5 separate regions of the Homo sapiens genome follow, and regions 2, 3, 4 and 5 are each linked to region 1. Evidence: promoter capture Hi-C in human tissues and cell types (Jung and others, 2019). All regions are on one chromosome and are shown on one strand. The core of a region is centred on a gene start or on the middle of the fragment in contact, and the rest is flanking DNA. Distances in the headings are between cores, read along the strand shown. Region 1 holds the start of CCDC169 (coiled-coil domain containing 169). Region 2 overlaps DCLK1 (doublecortin like kinase 1). Region 3 overlaps DCLK1 (doublecortin like kinase 1). Region 4 overlaps LOC102723490 (a long non-coding RNA gene). Region 5 overlaps LOC102723490 (a long non-coding RNA gene).

Region 1 (4,863 bases), core at 1,551-4,050:
TGGCAGGCCAGGTCTCATTAACACAGGCCTCCATAACAACTGTTTCAGTACTGACTTGAGTGGCTAAGTTAAATACTAAAAGCTAAAAAAACCAAAGCCCTTATACAAAGGCTGGAATGTAATAAAAACCCACCAAGAACTAGGTCTCAAAGCATGACAAAAAAAAAAAAAAAAAAAAAGAAGGAATTCTTAGCTGGACCCATTTAGGATTAAACAAGTTTTTTGGGGTTCTGAAGGAATCCCCAAACCTCCCTGATTTAGCAGGAGACAGGGGTAATCACCCTAGCACCTGGACCCATTTAGATTAAGTTTACTGAGGCTCCAGAGGAAGGTCTTCAGGACTCAAGACCTTAGTTGTAGATTATAAAAAGTTAACCACTTAATGTCTATAGATGAATGCACACTTACACATAGACATATAGCTTAGAAGGTCTGGAAAACTGTAATTTTGAGTTGGTCTGGTTATAGTTTCCAGGGCTTCTGCCTGTAACTGGTTCCAGAAATAAAAACTCTCTTCCTCCCCAGTTCATCTACATGTTCTTACTGGGTCACAAGAAATAGCAACCCAACCCTCAGTTTGGTCTGGGAACACCCTGTGCAGCTCTCCCCTCCAATATCTGCCCTGCAAAGTCTAGCTGCCTTGTTCTCTCTAGACTCTTAGAGAAACTCCGTTTCCTCAACTTAGGGCAACCACCAGCCTCTGCCTGTTTTCTCCCTTTCTGCTTTGTACCCTGGCAGGCCCAGGCCAATTTGGGAGCTTGCCTCATTTGTGTCTCATCTCTTGGTGATCGTTTTCCCTTATTGCCTGATGTTCAATGTTCTTTTTTTGTTCCTCTTAGTTTTTTAGTTGTTTCAGGCAGGAGGGTAAATTCAGGTCCTTTATCTCTGCCAGAAACACAAATCTGTGGTTTCTGTAGTTGTTGACAAACCTGTTTTCTGCTTGCCTTTGCTCCTAATTTCCCACAGTGAGATCCTGCTAACAGATCTTTTTAAGAAATCCTCTGGGTCGGGTGCAGTGGCTCATGCCTATAATCCCAGCACTTTGGGAGGCAGAGGTGGGTGGATCACGAGGTCAGGAGTTCAAGACCAGCCTGAGCAATATGGTGAAACCCCATCTCTACTAAAAATACACAAAAAAATTAAGCCAGGCATGGTGGTGCGTGCCTGTAGTCCCAGCTACTTTGGGAGGCTGAGGCAGGAGAATTGCTTTAACACAGGAGTGGAGTTTGCAGTAAACTGAGATTGTGCCACTGCACTCCAGCCTGGGAGACAGATGAGACTCCGTCTCAAAAAAGAAATCCTCTGTATATTTGGATTTGTCAACAGATAATCTAGTCCTTTTCACTTCATTCTATTCTGTTTACTTGGTTGTGAGTTGCCCTTTCAGACTTAACAGCTAGACAAAATTTTGATAAGCATACCTCCTATATTAGGGTAATTCACAGAAACAGAACCAATAGGGAGTGTGTGTATAAAAGATTTATTATAAGGAATTTGCCCGTACAATTATGAAGGCTGAGAAGTCTCAGGATCTGCAGTTGACAAGCTGGAGATGCAAGCAAACTGATGTGCAGTCCCAGTCTGAGCCCAAGGCTGGAAAAGTGTTCCAGCTCAAGCTGTTTGGCTGTAGGAGCTCCCTCTTACTCCTGGGAGGTCAGCCTTTTTGTTCTATTCTGTCTTCGGTCGATTGGCTGAGGCCCACCCACATTGGGGAAGACAATGTACTATACTCAGTCTACCAATTGAAATGTTAATCTCATCCAGAAACTCAATTGGAAAACTATGTATTCACAACACTTCTGACACCAAATTGTGTTTTCCACACCAATTATCCCATTCTCACTAAAACCTTGGTCTCCACAACCCCTTTATTCTCTAAAGACATTCCTAAGTCTTTAGTCAGTAACTTTTCAACCAATTGCCAATCAGAAAATCTTTGAATCTAGCTGTGACCTGGAAGCCACCCCGTCCCCCACCCCTTCCAATTGCCCTGCCTTTCCCGATGGAACCAGTGTATATCTTAACATGCATTTGATTGATGTCCCATGTCTCCCTAAAATGTATAGAACTAAGCTGTACCCTGACCACCTTGGGCACGTGTTCTCAGAATCTCCTGAGGGCTGTCACCCGCCATTGGTCACTCATTTGGCTCAGAATAAATCTCTTCAAATATTTTACAGAGTTTGTCTCTTTTTGTCAAGGAAACACAGATGTATCAAGGGTAGGATGCAAACTTTGTGATTAAAAATATAATGAAATTTCAAGTTGCAGTGAGCAGCTCTGAGGTATGTTCATGAACAGCACACAGATGCAAAACAATAATCTGGAGGGTTAGCAGTCTTCCCGAGTTCAGGAGGTACCTTTTTAAGACCAGTTCCTCCCGCTCCGACACTGCCAAATCAGCGACTCTGGTGCTTGTTCAACTGAAGCAAAGAAGGGCGCAGCTAATCTTGGATCCAGCGTTTCCCTAACAAGGGCTAAGAGTGAAGCCGACTTTGCCGTCCGGGGCAATGTTTAGGAAAGCAACCAAAGCCAGCAGGAGGGAAGAAAAAGGAGAGGGATATTCTTGGCCCCCTGACACTCCGCTGTGTAGCCGGAGCACGTCTAACCCCAGCGTCTTGAGCAAGGAGTGTCCCTGGAGCTGTTATCCAGGGTCGCTCCACCGCACAGAGTAGGCTTCTCCAGTCTCCCCGGCTGCCCTCGCCCCACCCCCTGCCGCCTGCGGGCATCGCTTTATGACGTCACCACGTGCCTCTGCGGGCAGGCGCGGGAGGTGCGACCGGGGGGCGGTTGGGGTTCACCGCCTCGTGCCGTACTGGCTTCTGGGTGGCCCTTAATGTCTTGTGCTCTAAGGTGCTGAGGGGAAAGACGCGGGAGGTCTCTGGCCTGACACTATGAAGGAAGAGAGAAACTACAACTTCGACGGTGTGAGCACCAACCGCCTGAAACAGCAGTTGCTGGAAGAAGTCCGCAAGAAGTGAGTCGGCGGGCGGCGCGGTGTGGGGTCCCGTCCACACCCCCCGAGCCTTCACCTGCAGAGTCTCAGGGCTGAAGCCGCTGAGGGTGCTGTAAGACCGGCGCCGTGATTAACCCCTGGGCACTTCGGTCTGGGTTCCAAAAGTATTCCATGCGAAAGATTCACGTGCCTCTTTGAGTAAGCCTTTGGTATTGTTAAGTAGGCAGCTTTCCGGGTAGGATGTGCTGCCCTTAAGGATCCAATCATATGGCGTGTATTTTGCCCATATACTGTAATGCCAAAAGTTGTGTTTGGTTTTGATGTCTCCATAAATCCAGGTTTTCTGCTTAAAATTCCAAAGATTTTATTTAGTTATACGGGGTTTTTTTTTTCTTTCATCCCTTTAAGGGGAACTTCATAAAATGACATTTAGTAAAACTGTTACTCCTCCTTTATGCTTTTTAAAAACAGTATTCGTACTTCGTGTTAAATTTTTGAAACATTTAAAGTATTTTTTGGACATACTCCCAACTCCATCCACAAGTCCCGTGAGAATTGGACTCTCCTTTGTGCCTAGATAGGGTTCTGGGTTTTCCTCTATTGTAGCTCCAGTCACAGTATTTTAATTGCCTGTCTATTTCTTGTTTTGCTACCAAACTACACGCGTTCTGAGGACAGGTTCTGTGTATTCTGAGGAAGTAGAGAATAAGAGCAAGTACTTGAGGACAGTCCTGCAAAAACACAAACTCCATCTCTTGTCACTCAGTAACTATGCAATCTTAGACAAGTTAATTAACCTCTTTAATCCTCAGTTTTCTCAGCTCTAAGACTGGTATACAAATAGTCATCTCATACCTCCTGCTGTTGTTCCCAGGTTGGAATGAAATGCACTATAAAGAACTTAGCATTGGCTTGTGATACGCATCCAGTGGAACTTTGCTGCCGCTATTGCTATTTTTCTGTTCACTGTTCACTGAATTCTTCCGTATTTAATACAATGCCTTGAACATAATAGGCACTCAAAAATATTTATTGAATAAATGGCCCTGTCATATGATAATGTTCTATTTACTGATGCCCTAAATAGCTAACCTTTTAAATTAGTGTTTGTTTTTTTCTCTTTGTTTCAGTTTGTCAGCTGTTATGTATTGCCCTAGGTATGCCTTTCTGTAATAATGTGCAGTGCCTAATTTGCTTGGTTCTGAAAAACCAGGTAACTAACTTCTTTAGGATGATATTTAAGTTAAAAATAAAGGATTTCCAAGGGCCGGGCCTGGTGGCTCACGCCTGTAATCCCAGCACTTTGGGAGGCCGAGGCTGGGCGGATCACAAGGTTAGGAGTTCGAGACCAGCCTGGCCAATATGGTGAAACCCTGTCTCTTCTAAAAATACAAAAAAATTAGCAGGGCTTGGTGGCGCATGCCTGTAATCCCAGCTATTCAGGAGGCTGAGGCAGGAGAATTGCTTGAACCCGGGAGGCGGAGGTTGCAGTGAGCCGAGTTTGCACCACTGCACTCCAGCCTGGGCGACAGAGCGAGATTCTGTCTCAAAAAAATAAATAAAAATAAATAAAAGATTTCTAATGGTTGCCTGGGGGTCTTTGAGCTTTAGTGCATATTTGAGTCCTAGAACTGACTAATTGGAAGCCTTCCTTTGCCTGAGTCTTATTTCTTAACCAGTCCTTCAGTAAATAATGTGTCATAGTAAATTGTTCCTGAAGTAGTAGTGGGTTACTATGTATTATTTTTCTGATGTTATTTTTAATTGAATTATAATCAACAAAAATATTTTAAATAACAGGGATGCAGTGCAACTCTCAATATTTGAACTAAGACACAAGATTACGGAACTGGAAGCCAAACTCAATACTGACAATGAAGGTATATAAGTAAATACTTATATTTGTG
Region 2 (5,236 bases), core at 2,075-4,574, 300 kb after region 1:
CGTATGGCTGTGAGGTGCCTCTGAAGAGCCATCAATGTGGGTGTGAGGTTTCTGCATTCGCAGGAGATATTGAATGGAGAGGATTATGAAAGGGCTCTATTTTTCTTTTTAGGATGATAAAACTCAAAACTATTGAAGGGCATTTTTATTTTAATAATGATATTATTTATCAAAATGTTTAGCATTTTCTGACAATAGGAGTGTATTGTGTCGTAGTTTTGTACTTTATCTTAAGGACGTTGTGAGTCAATTTTTCTTCTAAGACTCCTACACTTTCTTATACTTCTTAATTTTATTCAGAATTTAAAAAATTATGTTAAAATTTTAGGGCAGTTGAAGGGACACTAAAATACTCAAAAGGGGGTCAGTAACTAAAGCCACTGAGGAAGGTGGGAGTGGAGCTCAGCATGTCAAAAGAAGAATTGATCGAGTGATGATGCCACTCCAACAATGGTCTGGATCAGCAATCAGAACATGGGAAACTGCTGACCACACTTAGTGGGAAAGTAGACTGGTTGTGCTTTATATTAAATATCAGTAATAAGCTGGAATCAAAAATGCTAAACTTCAGATTGCTACACCAAGCTACCCAAAACACCCCAGGACCTATGCATTCTGGTTAGTCAAAACATTTCTGTATAATGGAACAAAGCAATTGCCAGTAGTTAATCCATGAGAAGCATACTTTGCTGTTTGGTTGGTTTTTTGCTTAGTTTTGGTTTGGGGGGAAGTTCTTTTATATCTGATTTAAAGACTATTACATTGCAAGTTTCATGACTTACAACCATAGTTGGAATGTTCTGTATGAGAAAGAATGTTTTCATTAGCAATCAGTCATTTTTAGGTTAGGACTGAACTAATCAGGCCAACACCACCTCATGATCATCGGTATTAAAAACTATTGATAGATGTAAACATGTGATTGGCTGTTTAACTGTTTTCCATTGTCAGAATGAAATTAACCTGTGAAATTAGAGCCATGCGTGTTCCATTCACACTGGAAAAAGCCAAGAGAGGGAAAATGTTCTTTGCCTCCAAAGCAAGTTTTTGAGATTTCTGCTCTACGATGATTTTCCCCTTAAAATGAGAGATGAGAAAAGAAATTAAAGATAATCATATCTGCCTAGGTTTTAGTTGGATTGGGGCCTATCTTCATTAGTAATAAATCTCATATTTCCTCATCATTAAAAAGAACTTGATCCAGACAATACATGCTCATGTTCAGTGGAGAAGATCACGAGATTATCCAAAGTGGGCTAGCCTTGGCTTTGCATTTGTGTATGGATGAGGCTGATATTGGATTTAATTTCAAACCACAAGGTGTAGCCCCAAGAGAAAGGAGCCATTCTGGAAACTAATTGGCTTTTTCCATCCTACCTTCAACTCAAACATCATTAAACTCTGTTTCTAGCAGGAGGAGACTGTTCCTGCATGCAGATGTAGGGAAGTGGTTAAGGGGCTTTAAAGGGCTTCACTGCATGTAAAATAAATAACACAGGAATCAGAGTGTTAAAAATAGAAGCTCTGAGTAAATAGCTATAGCTTTGTGGCCAACAGGTCGAATGCTCACTCTCAGTATTAAATGGGCAAAAATAAAGTTATGCTGTCCATATGGATGAAAGCAAAGCATGTATAAAAGATGATGCACAGAGTGGATAATACCCTTCAGATAAGTGGTGTATTAATCAGGGTTCTCCATAGAAACAGAACCAATAGGTTGTGTGTATATATATATATGGAAAGAGATTTGTTTTAAGGAACTCACGTGAACATCGAGACAGGCAAGTTCAAAATACTCAGGGAGGGCTGGCAAGCTGGAGACTCAGGAAGAGCTGATGTTGCAGTTCAAATCTGCTAGAATGGCCTCCTGCTTGTGGAGGTCAGCCTTTTGTTCTATTCAAGCTGTCAACCAATAGATGAGGCCCACCTGCATTACAGAGGGCAGTCTGCTTTGCTCAAATTTAGCAATTTAAATGTTAATCTCATCTAAAAACACCCTCAAAGAAATGTGCAGAATAGTGCTTGACTACATACCTGGGCCCCGTGGCCCAGCCAAGTTGACACATAAAATTGACCACCTCAAGTGGGAATGGGCATTGCACATGGTGCTGTTTGCAATACCAGCACACTGAAGCGAATGATGAAGACGGGAGGCCTTAATCTATCTCTCCTTCTTAAAGCACTGATGATTTTATTTACAACTAAAATAGGTTGGCAGGGTGCAGTGGCTTACGCCTAGAATCTTAGCATTTTGGGAGGCCGAGGCGGGTAGATCCCCTGAGGTCAGGAGTTTGCAACCAGCATGACCAACATGGTGAAGCCCCGTCTCTACTAAAAATACAAAAATTAACTGGGCGTGGTGGTGGGCACCTGTAATCCCAGATGCTTGGGAGGCTGAGGCAGGAGAATCACTTGAACCTGGGAGGCGGAGATTGCATAATATTTAACTCCAGCCTGGGCAACAAGAGTGAATGAAACTCCATCTCAAAAAATTAAAAAAAAGAAATAATAAAATTAAAATAGATGAAAATATTGTTGGCCTTAAGTAAAGCCTAATATAGAAGATATTTTAGGAAAACTGTTGTAATCTTATTGCTTATGTTTGTAACATTTCTGCTAGATTTGCATTTATAAGAACAGCCAGGAAACAAAGATTTATGGTAAAAACGTGTGATCTCACGTACGTGGGTTAGTTTATCTTTTTTGAGGTTGTCTCTCACAGCCTGCTGCTAAAAATAAGCAGTCTTCTATTATTTGCTCACCTGTGATTTAGTCAGAAAAGCCAGTGTATTCTAATGAGTTGGGAAGAGGTGAAATTTCCATTCAGAATGGTAATTTTCTGTTAATCATCATTGAAACTGAAGAGCCTCCCAGATTGTTCCTCAACATTTGAATTGGCCTCAGTAAAAATGAAAGAAGACAAAGGAACATTTATATGAAAGTAAAATGTTCTTATTCTTTCTGGTTTTGCTAATAAAACTACCAGATTGGTTTCCTTGTCTTTGTCCTCTGATCTGTTTACATTCCTTTTATTATATTTTGGTGTGGCCCATTAAAAATATTGCCCCATACTAACTAGTATATTGAAAACGGATAGAATTAGATTTCGTAATAAAGTGAACTTAGTTCACTCAAATGTTAAGTCATTTCCTCCACTGAATCCTTGTAGACACAGGCATTTGGATTGTATCTTTACAATATGATATTGGAAAAGATGAGGGAATATTGGTAATTTGAGGTGAAAAAGAAAACTCTTATAATTGAATGTGGATGCTTTGTCTCTTCTTGGAGCAGAGGTTTAAGAAAGAAAAGGAAGAAACTCCACCACTACAAAGCTACCTTGGAGAACACTTAGACAAAAATTTCTCAGAGCATATGCTATTTGGTGAAAATTCACAAATTGCTCTTCATAGCTTTCTGAATTTGTGTCATATCTGCATTTTAAAATTGAATGTGCTGCAGTTCCAACCTGTATGCTTTTGAATGAACCTTAATGATGGGCCATTTCTTATTGCCGTCATCTGTGCCTTTCATTGCTGATTTATGTCAACTTCCTTTAAATGCATTGTGGTATTTAGGCAGTGGATAAGATAGTAATGCCATCGCATGCTGGTTGCTTAATGATGCAATTGCTTGAAAATTTAAAGCCCATAATAGCTTTAGGTCAGGTTCAGAAGTTCATGTTCCATGCCAGACATTTGAAGACTGAATCAGAGCCCGAGCACTGCCAAAATCATGCCACATTTGTCAAGCCTGGCCTTGGGTAAAAGCTGTTGGAAGCCGCCCATTCATCCAAGCCAATCACTGATAATGAAGCTTGAGGGAACATGAAATATCTTTTCTAAAAAGAACAGACAACCTCACCAGTTGGCTGCCTTTTTTTTATTTTTAGTATAATTACCAGGGGCAAACTGTCTTGCAGAATTGCTATCTTATATTAGCTTTGAGTTTGTGTTCTTGAGACCTGATGCAAGGATGTTTTATTAGCTAAGAATATGTGGTTTGAGGTCAGCTGAACATGATTCTTTCAGGTTTTTCTTGTGGGCTGTAATGTGATTGACTATTCTGTGGTGTGGAAGCTTACAGCTAGAAAAGAAACTTCAGGAGAACCACTTTCCTGTTTTCACGCTTATATTTTATCTGACTAATTCGCTTGGCTCCTGCCACAAACATCCATCAGTGAACAGACTTCTGCTACAGGGAAAGTTCTAGAAGAGCTGCCCACCTGGAACACTTCAGTCAAGCCTGAAGCTGGAATTGTAAAGTGTGACTGATTCCAAAATCACCATGCCCCAACCTACTCCTGCTAAATGTTAGATTTTTTTTTTTTTTTGGAAGCTGCATGTTACTTTTCCCCTTTTCTTTTTTTCAAAGGGCTCATAGTATTGGTTCCAGTATCTCAAAAGGATGTTTTGCAGATGAGAGAAAAGTACTTGAAAGAGTCTGAAACGCTGGAAGGACTAGAGATGTTAACTGGTCACTTTCCCTCACTCCTGCCTTTCATATTCCACACTCAGGTCTTTAAAGACTTTGGCTTTGAAGAGAGGAAATGAAATATGGGAGCCTCAAGGCTGATACTTATCCTAGCTTTTTTTTTTTTTTCTCATGAGTGTTCAGAGAAAGGAATTGAATTTGAATTCTCTGAAGCACCATATGATAGGTAGTTCTGATTAAGTTGTGGCTAGATGTCTTTGATGATGTTATTACCATCATCAAAAAAATGTTAACTAATTCCTCATGTATGTAAATCTTTGTAATTCAGAACACACTCACTTTACCTGATTCTCACAACCACTTGGTAATGAAGGCACGGCAGGTACTGGTTTCATCCTCATCCCCCAATGTGTAGATGCGGAAACTGAGGATGAGAGGTAAACCTTTCCCCAAGTTTCACAGATAGTAAGTGGCAAGTCTAAGACAAATCATGCTACGTCCAGTGCTTTTCCTGTATTTTATGCTGCCTCCTGCCTTCTGTCAGCAGATTTTGGTGGCTGTTGGAGGAAAGAAAATTATAAGAAAAATTATAAGAAAAGATCCTTGCTCTTGATGAGTTTAAGGTCTACCTGGAGAGACAGAACTGAGGCATGAAAGAGACAAAGAAGAATGCAAGGTAGGCTGTGCTAAGTGTTCAGTCAGTAGTTTTGAGGTTACTTGTTGCTGGAGCGTCATGTAGGAGAGGTGATTGATCGAAGGCAGGGACAGCAGAGAAAGCTTTCGGGAGGAAGTGAGAGTTGAG
Region 3 (4,794 bases), core at 2,259-4,758, 330 kb after region 1:
AGGAAATAGGTCGGAGGATGTGGTCCCCTGACACATTACAGGGAGGCTTGCTTTGGCTTTGCAGCTGGTAGTGCATTGTGGAAGTTTTCAAATCACGAGTAGATGGCCACTTTCAGAGTGGATAGGGCTCCCTACCCTGTTGAGTTGGCACACAAAAGGCAAGGGAGCGTGGCCCAGATGTCATTAGACATCAGGTTTCCACTGGTAGGAGATCCTTCTGGTGATTTCAGGTGAGTTAGGGCAGAGCCATGAAGGAATCAAGGGAGGAAGCCTGAGCAGATCTGTATGATGCCCCAACCCAAGATTTCCTAGGGAAAACTCATCCCCGTGCTCAGGGCACAGTCGTGCCTCCTCCTTTTGTCTCCAGTTTCTGAGCCGTTTTATACAAAGTCATGCTGCCAGAACTCTGGTAGCAAGTGGGGTGGGGGTGGGGTGGCCTCCAGCCCCTTGATCTCACCTTGGAGCTGGTGGAAGAGGATAGCGTCCTTCGTGGGCTGTGTGGTGGGGACTTGTCCAGGAACAGGGAGTGGACCCTCAGTGTCGCCTCCCTGCACCTTGTTGCCCTTGTGTTTCTGGCACCCCAGGTTGGCACCGTGACCAGCTAGATGGTGCCATGAAATGAGGTCTCCAGCCTGATGCAGGTCAGACCCCCTTTTCTTCTTTTCAGTGGCAAAGGTGAGACTCATCTCTGGTTCTCCAGAACAGGTCATAAGTGTTTTTTCCTGCCCAAGCCTACTGGTCCCTCACACTGTGTCCTCTGCCTCGCCCACACCACAGGCTGCACCTGCCCTCCTGCTCCTGGATCTAGGCAGCTCAGTGGTGCTGTTTCTGCAGCATGGATGGATTGGTGTAAGACCTGACCTAGTCTTTGGTCATGTAGTGTTTACAGTTGTGCACAGGTGTTGTGCCCTTGGGGACCTTACACAAGCTCTGCCCTCACTTTTTTCACAGCACACTAAGCATGGAAATGGCACCTGCCTCAAAGGGCTGTTGACTGAAATGAGATCATTGAGCTGAAGTTCTTAGCACCATTCCTGGTATGTTCATTTTCTAGGGCCTCCATAACAAAGTACCACATACTGGGTGGCTTAAACAACAAATATTTATTTTCTTACAGGGCTAGAGGTCAGAAGTCTGAGATCAAGGTGTTGGCAGGGTTGGTTCCATCTGAGGCCTCTATATTAGTTTGTTCTTACACTTCTATAAAGACATACCTGAGACTGGGTAATTTATGAAGAGGTTTAGTTGGCTCATGATTCTGTGAGCTGTACAAGCTTCTGCTTCTGGGGAGGTCTCAGAAAACTTACAACCATGGCAGAAGGTGAAAGGGAAGCAGGTACACTTTACATGGCCAGCAGGAGAGAGAGAGCAAGAGGGGAAGCGTTACACACTTTCAAACAACCAGATCTCATGAGAACTCACTATCACGAGAACAGCAAGGGGGATATCCGCCCCCAAGATCCAATTACCTCACCATGTCCCTCCTCCAAAATTGGGGATTACAATTCGACATGAGACTTGGGTGGGGACATAGAGCTAAATCATATCAGCCTCTCTCCTAGGCTTGCAGGTGGGACACCCTCCCCTTGTGTCCTTACACGGTCTTCCCTCTGCATCTGTCTGTGACCAAATTCCCTCTTTGTGTAAGGACAGTAGCAAGATCAGATTACATCCCACCCCACTGACCTCATTTTAAAGTAATCATCTGTGTCAAGGTCCTCTCTTCAAATGCAGTCACATTCTCAAGTACTCGGGGTTAGGAATTCAACACATGAATCTGAGGGGGGCTCAATTAGGCCTGTGATCTCTAGCAAATAACAAATGCTCAACGAATGTTAGTTACTTTTTCCTGGGCAGTTATTCTAAACTTTTGTCATTTTGTTTTATTTGTTTTATTTTCTATTTCTATTTTTATATGTCTATTTGCTACTTAGTAAATGACCCTTCCTCCTGTATTTTTTTGCAGAAAAATGAGGTACCAGGGCATAAACTTATTCAACTTACAGAATGTTCTTCCCTCTCCTTTGCCCCAAACCTCACTGACATCATCCCTTTCCTGCCAGTCTCAGAAAGGGGGGTTTCTCTGTCCCTGCTCCAGGTTCATCCTCACTCCTCTGTGCTCTGACCTCCTCCAGGACCATGAGCCAGCCCCTGCTCCCTCTTCCTCACATCTTCAGTTTTCTGCCATCTTCTCCATCCTTAACCTGTCTGCAGGATCAGGTTCCCCGTTCCTTGACCCTGCCTGTCCTTCCAGCAGCTGAGCTCTCTCTTTTTTGCCTTTTCTCATTGGAGCTTTTGAAGGAAAAGCCTACATTCTGTTCTCTTCTTTTTGTCATTCATTCATTTATTCATTCATTTGTTGAGCACCTTCTTTTTGCCAGCACTGGGCTAGGCATTTGGAATCTAAAGATGTGTATTCATAGTCCCAAGACCAGAGAAGAAAACAGATCATTGTAATATAATGAGGTGTGTGGCATGCCTTGTTAGAGAGGAGCCCAGTGGGCCCTATAGGAGGACTTAGGCACATCTGGCCCAATCAAGGCATAGACCGAGGTGCGAGGTGCAGGGGAGAGCTTCCCAGAAGAGGGCCCTGCTCTGAGTCCTGAAAATTAGATGGGCCATGAGCAAGGGGAGGTCTTCCCAGGAGGGGCAAAAGCCTATAAGCAGGAGGCCTGGGATCCTCCAAGTGGGTGGTATTTTCTTTCCTCCCCTTTGCTCCTCAGCTCACTGACCTCTGCATGTGCCTCGCCATTGAAAGGATTTCATGGGGGTTCCACTGGACCCCCACTAAGTGACCTGGAGAACGCAGTGTGTTCTTTATCTAATGGACCACCTCCCCTCCTTCTGCCTCTCCTCCCTTAGCCCCACCCTCACCTGCCATCCTCATTCCTTTCTCCATCTTTCTTTCTCTGTCTTCGTGGAAGCTCCTCTGCTGTGGGCCCCAGAATGTACTGGGTGCTGACTCAGGCAAGTGGGTTATTAGTGATGTCAGCAAAGGACAGGAGGAAGAGCAGGCATGGGGATGTGGGAATAATAATAATGCATTTGTACAGCATGAGGACTGGGAGTTTTGTGACTGGTGAGATGCAGTGGACAGAGGAGATGAGAGAGAAAGGTCAGGACTGCACCAGGAGGCTGCGTGTCATCAGGATACAGGATACAGGGTGTGCTTGAGCCATGATGGTCTATGGGATGGGGCCTCCCTTTTCCTCATTTCTTACATCAAATTAGGTTCAAAGGTCCTTTGTTTTTCCACTCTAGCCATCTTTTGAGTCCACCTCACTGCAGTATTCATCATGCTTCCTTCCCACTCTGTCTCAGTGCTGCCCCCCACCCCATCTCCTTGCTACCTCTCTAACATGCCACTTGCTCCTTGTCACTTCTCTCTGTGTGGCAACCTCTGTTGACTCCACATATCAATGCAGAATACCTCCGGAGCTTTCAGGAATGTTTGTAATCAGACTCCCCATCTTAAATATTTATCATAAATTGATAAGCAAATAGTTATTGGATACTATGTGTGTAGCTCTGAGGTAGTGAGCTTCTCTGTTTGTATGTCTCTTTCTCTACACACACATGAGCTGAGCACTTAGTAAGCAGTCAAGATCTCATGTCAAGGCTGAGGCAGGAGGATTGCTTGAGCCCAAGAGGTCAAAGCTGCAGTGAGCTATGATTGCATAGCGACACCCCATCTTAAAAAAAAAATAAAGGCTACCTGTCAAATGGTTGATTAAGAATCTACATGAGGAAAGAACTTGCTGAAAGATGTTTGAGAGCCACAGAAAGGACCTCAGAGGAAGGAGGAGGAGAGAAATGTCTAGGTGGTAAATAGGACCAGTTGGAGGTATGCTGGTGCTGAGCCACGGAAATGGTTGAGCTGTGGGACAAGGATAGGTATCCAAGTCTGTGGTCACCAATCAATGAGTGTGAATTTTAAGTCAGCAGTTGGAAAAGGAGAAGCTCCTGGGAGTGCAGTTAATGAAGAATTGGAAGGATTTAGTCTAGACGTAGAAAGGAAGTCCAAGATAGGATTATTAGCTGGTAGAAGACAGGAATTATTTGTAACTTGCTCCCTGTCCTTGTGCAAACAACAACAACAATAAAAACAACCGAGGTCCAGGGATGGGATTTCATCCCAGAGGTGCGTTAGCAGCTCCAGGGCCCAGCATTAACAGGGAGAGTGCCTTTACTATGGAATTTTTTTTTTTTTTTTGAGATGGAGTTTCACTCTTGTTGCCCAGGCTGGAGTGCAGTGGCACAATCTTGGCTCACTGCAACATCTGCCTCCCAGGTTCAAGAGATTCTTCTGCTTCAGTCTCCCACATTGCTGAGATTACAGGCATCCATCACCATGCCTGGCTAATTTTTGTATTTTCAGTAGAGACAGGTTTTCACCATGTTGGCCAGGCTGGTCTCGAACTCCCGACCTCAGGTGATCCACTCGCCTCAGCCTCCCAAAGTGCTGGGATTACAAGCGTGAGCCACTGCACCTGGCCTACTGTGGACTTTTGATGAAAGCACGCATCTTCCTGTCTTCTTGTATCTCATCATTTCTCAGGGGAGTGTCATCAAGCTCTAAGTCTTAGCTTCGGTGTCATGTCCTTCAACCTAAAATGGGAACTAGCATGCATGTGTTGTTCCAAATGGCAGAGCTCTTGTGCGGGGTCCAGAGAAAGCCCTTTTAATTCTTTTCTTCTTTTTCAGTGCTTCAGTTACATTGAAGCCAATCAATCATTCTCTGCCTACTTCATTGGCAAAAATTATTCAAGAAAATGGTATCCTGATAACAGACTA
Region 4 (4,796 bases), core at 1,529-4,028, 490 kb before region 1:
GGCTCCTGGATTGTGGACTTTTCAGCCCCCAGAACTGTGAGCCAAACAAACTTCTTTTGTTCATAACTTCCCCAGTCTGTGATATCCTGTTACAGCAGCAGAAAATGGACTAAGACACCCAGGGATGTACCTGGAACCTGGAAAAAGGTATGAAGTGAAGAAAAGTAGACCTGATATGTGTACTCAATTTAGGGGATTCTAAAAGTGTTCCTAGCTTTTTCATATTATAATCTTCTGAGAGAAAATCTTTAATACAGAAGGGAGGGTTTATGCCTTATTTATTTATTTATTTATTTATGTTGAGATGGAGTTTCACTCTTTTCACCCCAGCTGCAGTGCAGTGGCACGATCTCGGCTCACTGCAACCTCTGCCTCCTGGGTTCAAGCGATTCTCCTGCCTCGGCCTCCCGAGTAGCTGGGATTACAGGAGTGTGCCACCACGCCTGGCTAAGTTTTGTATTTTTAGTAGAGACGGGGTTTTGCCATGTTGGCCAGGCTGGTCTCAAACTCCTGACCTCAGGTGATCCACCCACCTTGGCCTCCCAAAGTGCTGGGATTACAGGCATATGCCACTGGCCAATGCCTAATTTATTAGCATTGGTGAATCATCGGAGTTTTAAAGCAGAAAAGTAATATAATTGGAATTTAACTTGGCAGTGGTGCGTAGTCAGAGGGCAAGGAGAGACTGTTAGGAAGCTGGTGGAAGGTTTAAGCAAGAGGAAAAGGGAGATTTCACTCAAAGCAAGGAAAGATGAAAAGTAGGGCACTGATTCAAAAACTTTTTCATGTACAGAAGATCTGAATGTGGGCAACGGAGGACAGGCAAGAGGGAGTGGTTCTGATACTTGAGGTTTCCAAGCTCCAGGTACAAGGGAAATGGTGGAGCCATTAGCAAATTATGAAGACAGGGAAATGGTTTTGATTGAGGATATGGGCATGATGAGTTTTTGTTTGTTTATTTTGTAGTTCTGAGTTTTTTTAGGACACTTTACCAAAAAAGGATACGTACACAGCGTAACAGTAAAATAAATACAGATGGAAAAAGTCAGGATCAAGGAAAAAAAGATCACAGAAGACAAGAGTCCACACTGCTGATGTGAATCAGATGCAAATTTGGTTGTGAGCCAAATGATGGGTTACATAGTTCTCATTAATGGATCGCACATAGCACATCAATTATTTGGAGAAGGGGGAACACAGTTTTCCATTATCAAATTGTTTCTTATTTGTTGTTTACTGTTATTACGTTATTATTGCTTATGATGATGATGATGATGAATAATCTAATCATAATAAGATTGGTAACTCAGTTACCAAAATCTGTTGGTTCTATGTTGCTTTATTCTCTCTAGACAGACTGCACGTGTTTTTCTGCAGTCCATAGTTAATAAGTTGGGCCACATCCTGTTCTACCTGGATTACTGCAACAGTCTCCAGTTAGTCCCCCTCCTGTTTCCTCTTCACATTGCTGCCAGAGCCATCTTTCTAAAATGGAAATCAAATCTATTACTTTCCTGCTCCAAACCTTTCATTTATGCCCCATTTTCATTTGGAAAAATGTCCACATTTCTTAGCATGACTTAAAGGCTCTTTGTGATAGGTTTCTGCTGCCCTCCCCAGCCTCAGTCCCCCTGGAGTGAGCATTCACTATTTTGGAGTTGCCTAGCAGCCGTTCTTCTCCTATGGGTAACAGCATTTCAGTTTCCTTCCTGTGGCTCCTATGGACTGTGAGCTGTCTCTGTGGGGCCATCAGGGACAGTCTTGCCTTCCTCTGGCCAGCAACAGGCCTGAGCTTGTTCAATCTGGCTCTCTCTTCAGGGACTTTGGGTCTCAGAAGGAATAACACACAGGCAGAAACATGGTTAGGGCTCATTATCTCGGAGGCAGTGCCTGACAAGCTTATTACATCTCCTGTGTCACTGTGTCTGTCTCGTTCTGAATCTAACCTTCCTGCCCTTTAACTGCATCCGTGAACTTCTGACATTTTTCCCATAAACTGATTTCTATTTTTCTCAGCCAGAGTGGGCTTCTGCTGTTGTCACCAGAATATCCCCCATTCTCCTGGCCAACTCCGACTGTTCTTTCAGGCCTTAGCTTACATATAATTTTTATGCTGCCTTGTGCAGGAGGCAGATTTCTGCCTTGACTTCTATTACTTTCTTCCCTGACTTCCCAGGCTTCCTGTGGTTAAACAGAGGAGCGTACCCATGTTACTTACACGTAATTATTCATTTTCTTTACCCTGTGTTCCCTTATGTTCAATGGTTTTGTTTTTACATTGAGTTTTGTGATTATATTTACAGGAGTTATTTATATGTAAGCTTCTATACTTAATTTATTTTGGCTTTCCTACTTTTTAGTTCTTTATTTTGAATTCCTTCAGTCAGCCACGTATCCATGAGTAGTTTCCTTTCTCAGTCTTTGCCTTCACACGTGAACACCACTTTGGCTGGGAATGAAATTCTTGATTATGCTTCCCCTCTGAAAGTCTTTACATATTTTTCATTATCTTTAGGAACTCAGTGTTGTAAAGAAGTCTGAGGAAGCAGGCCAAGTGTGGTGGCTCCTGCCTATAATTGGAGCACATTGGGAGGCTGAGGCAGGAGGATTGCTTGAGCTCAGGAGTTCGAGGCCAGCCTGGGCAACATAGCAAGACCCTGTCTCTACAAAAAAAAAAAATGAAAAAAATTAGCCGGGTGTGATGATGCACGCGTGTAGTCCAAGTTACTCAGGAAGCTGAGGTGGGAGGATTGCTTGAACACAGGAAGTCAAGGCTGGAGTGAGCTGTGATTGCACCACTGCACTCCAGCCTGGGTGACAGGGCAAGACCCTGTCTCTAAAAAAAAAAAGAGATTTTACCCCTTTTTAAGAAAGTTGTTTTTCCTCCTCCCTATTTGGATATTTTCAGAAATGTATAAATATTCTTGAAATTTTAACTTTTGACAAGGTATGTCTAGTATGAATATTATTTAGATTAATTTAGAATTTGCTTGGAATATAATAAAACATTTTTCCAAATTCACTGTTTTTTTGGCATGTTAAAATGTCTACTATTATAGCTCCAGTACCAGTCAGGATATGATCAGAGACGTAAAACCAGTAGGAATATCATTTATTTTAGGGAATTAAATATGGAAGCCAGTCTTCAAGACAGCTCACCCAATGATCCCTACCTCCGTGTATCTACACCCTGTGTGAACCCCTACCACAATGTAGCGCTCTTGGTCTGTGTGACCAATAGAAGTAATCAAAGGGATAATATACTCACTCCAGGAGGAGCCAGCCACAATGCTGTGGGGACACTCAAGCAAGAGAGATGAGTAACTGTAGACCTCTGCCAATTGCCTGCACTAAATTTTAGTAACATTAACTCCAGCCGCTATTAAACTTTTAGATCAGGAATCAGCAAACTATGACCCTCTCTTGGCCAGTCAGTCTACTGTTTTTGTAAAGAAAGCTTGTTGGAGCATGGACAAGACCATTTCTTTACATATTGCCTGTGGCTGCTCTCAAACTATAAAGGGAGTTGAATGATTGCAACAGAGACTGTATGGCCCACAAAGCCTGAAATATTTGCTATCTGACCTTTATATAGAAAGTTTGCAGACCCCCTGTTAGCATCTTTTTTTTTTTTTTTTCTTGAGATGGAGTCTTGCTCTGTCGCCCAGGCTGGAGTGCATTGGTGCGATCTTGGCTCACTGCAACCTCTGCCTCCTGGGTTGAAGAGATTCTCCTGCTTCAGCCTCCTGAGTAGCTGGGATTACAGGCACGTGCCATCATGCCTGGCTAATTTTTGTATTTTTAGTAGAGATGGGGTTTTGCCATGTTGGTCAGGCTGGTCTCAAACTCCTGACCTCAGGTGATCCACCTGCCTCGGCCTCCCAAAGTGCTGGGATTACAGGCTTGAGCCACCGCTCCTGGCCCCTGCTAGCATTTTGATTGCAACCTCATGAAAGGCCATGAGTTAGAATCATTTAGTTAATCCACTGTCAAATTGCTGACCTACAGAAACTGTGTGAAATAATAAATGTTTATGTTGTTTTGAAGTAATTTGTTGTGCAACCATAGATAGCAAATACGTTGACCTTATATAATTTTGGGAGCTGGTTAGGCAGTCTATGTGAGTCTGTATTGTTTCTGTATCTGGTGCTGGAGCCTGAAATCTACAGGGCAGGTAATTGGAAAGGGAAGATGGATGCGAATTGAAACCTGTAGCCCACAGGGAAGGAGTTGAGCATGCACTGGTCTCTCACCTCTTCCAAACCTGCAACCTTGGTGATGAGGGTGTCCCAAAGGAGGTATCAGTGCCCTTTGCCAGGGAGCTAACCATACACCTGGCTCAGAGGTTGCAGAAGCTGAAGAAGGATCCAGTAGGAGCTGGATGCTGGTGGCCCAGCTGCTGCCCCCACCAACTAGGTGAGACAATGTGCCTGAGCTGCCACAGCACCTTGTTCCCTGACACAACCTTTTGAGCATAAAAAGATGGCTGCAAATTCACTTCTGCCTTGGAAATCTGTAGCAAACTGTCTCTTCTTGCCCATGCTAACATGAAATTAGGAAGGGAAGGGAATCTAGTTCTAGCTTATCTATCCACCACTTTAAGGATTTCATATCCTTAAAGGGTGAAGCACTTTTATTTAATTAGCATCATTGTTAAGTGATTTATCCTTCTGCCATCCTCACCAAAAATTATAAATTGCTACCAATAGGTCTGACCCAGTCTGCAGTTCTTCAAGGGCTTCAAAGAGCGTAAGACACAGTCCATCTCCTCAGTGGCTCTAACATGACCATGTGAG
Region 5 (4,667 bases), core at 276-2,775, 460 kb before region 1:
CACCTTGGCCTCCCAAAGTACTGAGATTGCAGGCATGAGTCACGGCACCCAGCCAGCCCAGGTAATTTTAGTACAAATTCCAGAGGACAGAAATGAAGAGATTAGTATAAACTTAAACTCTGCTACTAACTAGCCATATGCCAAGCAAATCATTCCATTGAAAGCGAGTTTATCTCTGTCACTAAACAATTGTGTGGCCTGCTTTTGGTAATTCCCCTTTGAAATAAATTTAATGGCTGCCTAACTTCATTCATTTATTTATCCATTGAACAAGTACTTATAAAATAACTATTATGTCCCAGGCGTGGTTGAAAAGTTCTGGGGATGCAAAAATGAGTAAAAGCAATATAGTTCTGCCTCCAGGAAGTTACTTTCTAGAGAGGAGACTTTAAAATATTGGCAAACAAGGGTTTTCCCATTCATTCCCATTACATTTTATCTCCTCGCTGTGGTTTTAAATTTTGTATCTTAGCAAGCACAGCTGCTGACATTGACTTTTTAAAAGTAAATGAATTAATATTAATATAAGAATTTACTTTTGGAATACCTTCTTTTTTTTAAGGAAGAATTCCTATAACTTCTATATCTGGAGATTAGCATTCTTGCTTTACATATGAAATGGTATTTTATTTTGTTTAAACATTGTGATATCACAGATATCTGTGTGTTTAAACAGTGGAACATCACAGAGTCTGAGAACAGTCTTTTGGTGTTTCTTTTTCTTTGTAGATTTGTCATCACACATATTAAATATTATCCATCTTCTAGGTAATGCTTAATAAAAGGAGATGATTGTCTTTGACATTTGCCCTGGCATAGAATAATATTTTAAGCTGAAATCATGACAAGGTTTTACAGTTCATTATATTTTACAAGAACTATCCCATATTGTATGTATCACTGTCTATAACATTTAATTCCAAAGATTTCAATTCAAATAAGATCCTAAACATAGAGACTTGGGGAAGAAAACCAAACAGGCAAAAAAGAGTTTGATTATTGTAATGCATCATAATTAGGCTTTGGATTGTGGCTCAGCAAATCCAAAGACACTTCCTTGAGCCTGACCATCACTCCTGAGTGGTGTGACACACAGGGACAGACCCTCCTTCTCTTCTACCCCCAAATGTCAAGGGAGGGTCATATGAATGTAGCTCCTTTTGCGTTCTTTGGAAAGGTGGCATGGGTTTTCCTGCTGCCTTCTCTGAAGTGGGCTTATCAGTTGGCAGCAGTCCCATCTTGCATTTGCAAATTTGGCAGCTGCTGTGAAGTCATACAATGTCATGATTGTTTAGTGACAGAACTTGAACCCCCTCTCACCAGAATGACTTGCTTGGCACATGGCTAATTAGTAGCAGAGTTTAAACTTAGACTAATCTCTTTATTTCTGTCCTTGGAATTTGTACTAAAATTACTTGAGCTTATAAGAGCAGAGTATAGACTGTCCATTATATTGCTGTCTTTTCTACAGAGAAGACAGAATTAGGACAGAATTAGGAAAGCTTGAGAAGAACAGGATAGATGTTAAGAAAAATCTCCAGGTTCTAGCAGAATATCTGGTTGGTGTCCATCTTCCCTGATATCCATCAGTTGTTTGTACAAAGTCATCAAAAGGACCAGCATTTGATATATTTTTACAGATGGGTCCAGACTCACTGAAATTCCATATGTGGAAGATTTAAAAACTGGTTTGAAACATTTATTTTCAACTTTTAAGAAGCAATCATATAGGAGAGTTGTTACAGGTGGCATACATTATTTTCAGTTGTATGATCATACAATGATGGAAATAATTCCACACATCCATTTTTCAAAATATTCTCCCCATAGTTTGATTCTTCCAACAAGCAGTTATTTTCTCATTCATTATTAAAATGGTGGCTTTACCCTGAAGGAAGTGATTAAGGGTGTTTCTATATTTGAAAACATCTTCCAAACACTTGTCATCACAGACAAAGACAGCACATTTGGAGCATGATGTATTGTATAATAAATATATATAATGCCTTTATACTAAGCAAATATTCAGCATACATTGCCACAAATAGCCAAAAAGACCTGTGTCATTCAAAAGATTATTCTCTATTCTGTTGCAAAGTATTGTAAAAGAGTCTACTATATTTTTTTGGCTGGGTGTGGTGGCTCCCACCTGTAATCCCAGCACTTTGGGAGGCTGAGATGGGCAAATCCCTTGAGGTCAGGTGGTCGAGACCAGCCTGGTCAACATGGTGAAACCCCATTTCTACTAAAAATCCAAAAATTAGCTGAGTGTGGTAGTGTGTGCCTGTAATCCCAGCTACTCAGGAGGCTGAGGCAGAACAATCACTTGAACCCGGGAGGAGGAGGTCACAGTGAGCAGAGATACTGCCACTGCACTCCAGCCTGGGCAACAGAGCCAGAGTCCATCTAAATAAATAAATAAATAAAAAAAGAGCCTACCATATATTTTAAACTGATGTATAGTAGAGTACATAGTTTTGGGGTACTTGTGATTATTTAATGCATTCATGTAATTTGTAAAGATCACATCAGTCTCATTGCTTCTCAAAGAGGGGAGGTACAAGTCAGTCAGTCAGTCACAGAGTCTCCTCAAGATAGTTACTAGTTGTGATTTCCTAAAATACTTAAGGCAAGATAGTGAAATAAGCTACAATTTCTGCATTGGGACTGGTCCTGAGACTCTAATTGGCATTTATACCTTCTCTCCTCTATTACCCATTCTGTATTTCCTGCATTAGACAACTCTCAGGTGGTCTAATTTGCTTTCCTGGTGCAGTGATTCAGAACTTCAAGTGGTCTGATGCTTTATTTGTCCTGTATATTTTAGGCTGTGATTGCTGCATTTTTCCATTCACCATTATCAGGGGGCATGGAAGTACTGAGAGAGACCCGGTGATTCCCCTAGGTGGTTTCAGTCGTCATCCTCTGTGACTCCATTCTGTGGTGGTAACACCAACTCCTTAATTATTTCAATAAAACAGCAAATCATTTCCTTGCCAGTTGAACTACTATCATGAAAGCCCAAAGTGAACAGGTGGTAGTCACAAGTTCAAGTTCAATGCAACTCTTAGATACACTGGCAGACGTGTTCTTTCCCTGAGAACCAGGACCTCTAATTGGGCAGGATCTTAGATTGTAGGGAGGAGAAACACAATTGCTGTAAATGGGCCCTTGTGTTTGATGGTGAGGTGGGGTCACTTCTACTTCCCTCGCTTCCTGGACCTAATATTCTTAGTATTGGAGGTAAAGTACTATATTATCAGCTGTTGATTTAGTCCATATGTCACTCCTCAAAGACAACAAAGGTGTCAGACGCTGCAAGACGTCAGACCCACAGCTGAGCCTTCAACAGGCTGTTCATCATTTTATGGGCTGACTGTTTCCAGATGATGGCATACATGGTATTATTAGGGAGTTTCCTGGTCTGAAGTCCATTTTTGCAGCACCTTTGCTGTAGAAAATTGCACCGCTGAAGGGAACACTGTGTGGAAAACATGTTGAATGATAAAGCATTCTATAAGTGCTTTGGCGGGGGTGCTAATAGAGACACTGCAGCTAGGAAAGGCAATCCAACATTCAGAGTATGTATCAATTTCAGAATGAATTAATGCTCACTGTCCGCTCCAGTGTGTAAGTGGCCTGATATAATTGACTTGCCACTAGGTAGGTAGTTGGCAGATACCTCAAAGAATGGTGTGGGGTTGAGGGCACAGCTTCAGTCCCTTCAGTTGGCACACTGGCCACTGCTAAGTGGCCATAATGCCAAGAAGCCCTGGTTATTAGGCCCAGGCTGGTCTTCATTCCTTCCATCTTGGCCACTCTGTTCATGGACCCATTGCACAAGCAATGGGCTAGATGAGGAGACCATTCAGGGTCATCTCACCAGAACATCTTTCAGGGTCTCTTACAACTGAGGATATAATACAACAACTGTCAATTTTTAGCACACCAGCATAGTACTCTGTACCTGTGAGCCAGGCTTGCCTTTTCTTCCTCTGTGAGTTGGTCAGCAGAAACCCATGGGTTGAAGGTGAGGCGCTGGTGCAGTAGAAGTAGTTCGTATGCAGTCTGATCAGCAGTTAATGGTAATTTACTCATAATTTTGGACCTGGTCCAGCCCCCTTTTATGTGTGCCAGTTCTGTCATCTGGTGGGTTGCCGCCATGTCTGGCTAACAGTCTGACTTGATGATCTGAAAATATGCAACACCGTAGAGACCATGCTTCCTTCTGCCTGCTCTCAGTGACTGAACAGAGCAGAGATACTAAAGCAGGTCTGTTCCTAAGAGACAGGAGACTTTAGCTTGGGAACTTTCCAATGACCCTGCCAAACTTCCCTTAGAATTGCACCGCAGCCTAAGATGCTTGCACTCACCCTCCCTTCTTTCTTTTTCTCTTTCTCTTTCAATCAGGGGCAGATCTGCATCACGGGCTTGCATGTCCAATTTCACCTTGGCACTTGCTTCTCCGAGGGTCTGGACATGGGGCTTCGTTTGAGTCTGGAAGCAGTGGAGAGGGGCCAGAAGCTCCAGGCCTTGGCTTGGAGATCTCTACAGGTGTGCATGGAGATGTTTGAAGTGCTAATGGCTGAGACAGAGCAAGTGGCAGAGGCCTAGGAGACGGAGGCTGAAAGAGTCTGAGGAGGTACATATGAAATGCCCAATATGGA

Evidence for each region. Contacts are between HindIII fragments. The study calls those that stand out against the background at their distance.
Region 2: a fragment that was not itself captured here is called in contact with the fragment with the promoter of CCDC169 in region 1 in 2 of the 25 tissues and cell types used here (adrenal gland and bladder).
Region 3: a contact is called between a fragment that was not itself captured here and the fragment with the promoter of CCDC169 in region 1, in 1 of the 25 tissues and cell types used here (dorsolateral prefrontal cortex).
Region 4: a contact is called between a fragment that was not itself captured here and the fragment with the promoter of CCDC169 in region 1, in 2 of the 25 tissues and cell types used here (H1 embryonic stem cells and spleen).
Region 5: a fragment that was not itself captured here is called in contact with the fragment with the promoter of CCDC169 in region 1 in 1 of the 25 tissues and cell types used here (mesenchymal stem cells).

The regions. Positions count from the first base shown.
Region 1 is chr13:36,295,751-36,300,613 of GRCh38, reverse strand. It overlaps CCDC169 (coiled-coil domain containing 169), which reads left to right and starts at 2,800. Exons shown (of 8, transcript NM_001144981.3): 1 at 2,800-2,977; 2 at 4,757-4,836. The coding sequence starts at 2,895. It overlaps CCDC169-SOHLH2 (CCDC169-SOHLH2 readthrough), which reads left to right and starts at 2,800. Exons shown (of 16, transcript NM_001198910.2): 1 at 2,800-2,977. RefSeq lists enhancers at 1,249-2,211, 2,212-3,173. The HindIII fragment of the contact is 10,512 bases long and covers 1-4,863 here.
Region 2 is chr13:35,993,206-35,998,441 of GRCh38, reverse strand. All of the region lies in intron 3 of DCLK1 (doublecortin like kinase 1), which reads left to right. Among named protein-coding and RNA genes, the nearest start is that of DCLK1, 140 kb to the left of the region's middle. RefSeq lists an enhancer at 4,459-4,960. The HindIII fragment of the contact is 4,431 bases long and covers 1,109-5,236 here.
Region 3 is chr13:35,971,183-35,975,976 of GRCh38, reverse strand. All of the region lies in intron 3 of DCLK1 (doublecortin like kinase 1), which reads left to right. Among named protein-coding and RNA genes, the nearest start is that of DCLK1, 160 kb to the left of the region's middle. The HindIII fragment of the contact is 6,810 bases long and covers 104-4,794 here.
Region 4 is chr13:36,784,332-36,789,127 of GRCh38, reverse strand. LOC102723490 (a long non-coding RNA gene) reads left to right here. Exons shown (of 7, transcript XR_001749825.2): 1 at 1-147. Among named protein-coding and RNA genes, the nearest start is that of RFXAP, 32 kb to the left of the region's middle. RefSeq lists an enhancer at 1-73. The HindIII fragment of the contact is 4,285 bases long and covers 636-4,796 here.
Region 5 is chr13:36,755,131-36,759,797 of GRCh38, reverse strand. It overlaps LOC102723490 (a long non-coding RNA gene), which reads left to right. Exons shown (of 7, transcript XR_001749825.2): 2 at 4,411-4,642. Among named protein-coding and RNA genes, the nearest start is that of RFXAP, 62 kb to the left of the region's middle. The HindIII fragment of the contact is 3,827 bases long and covers 1-3,438 here.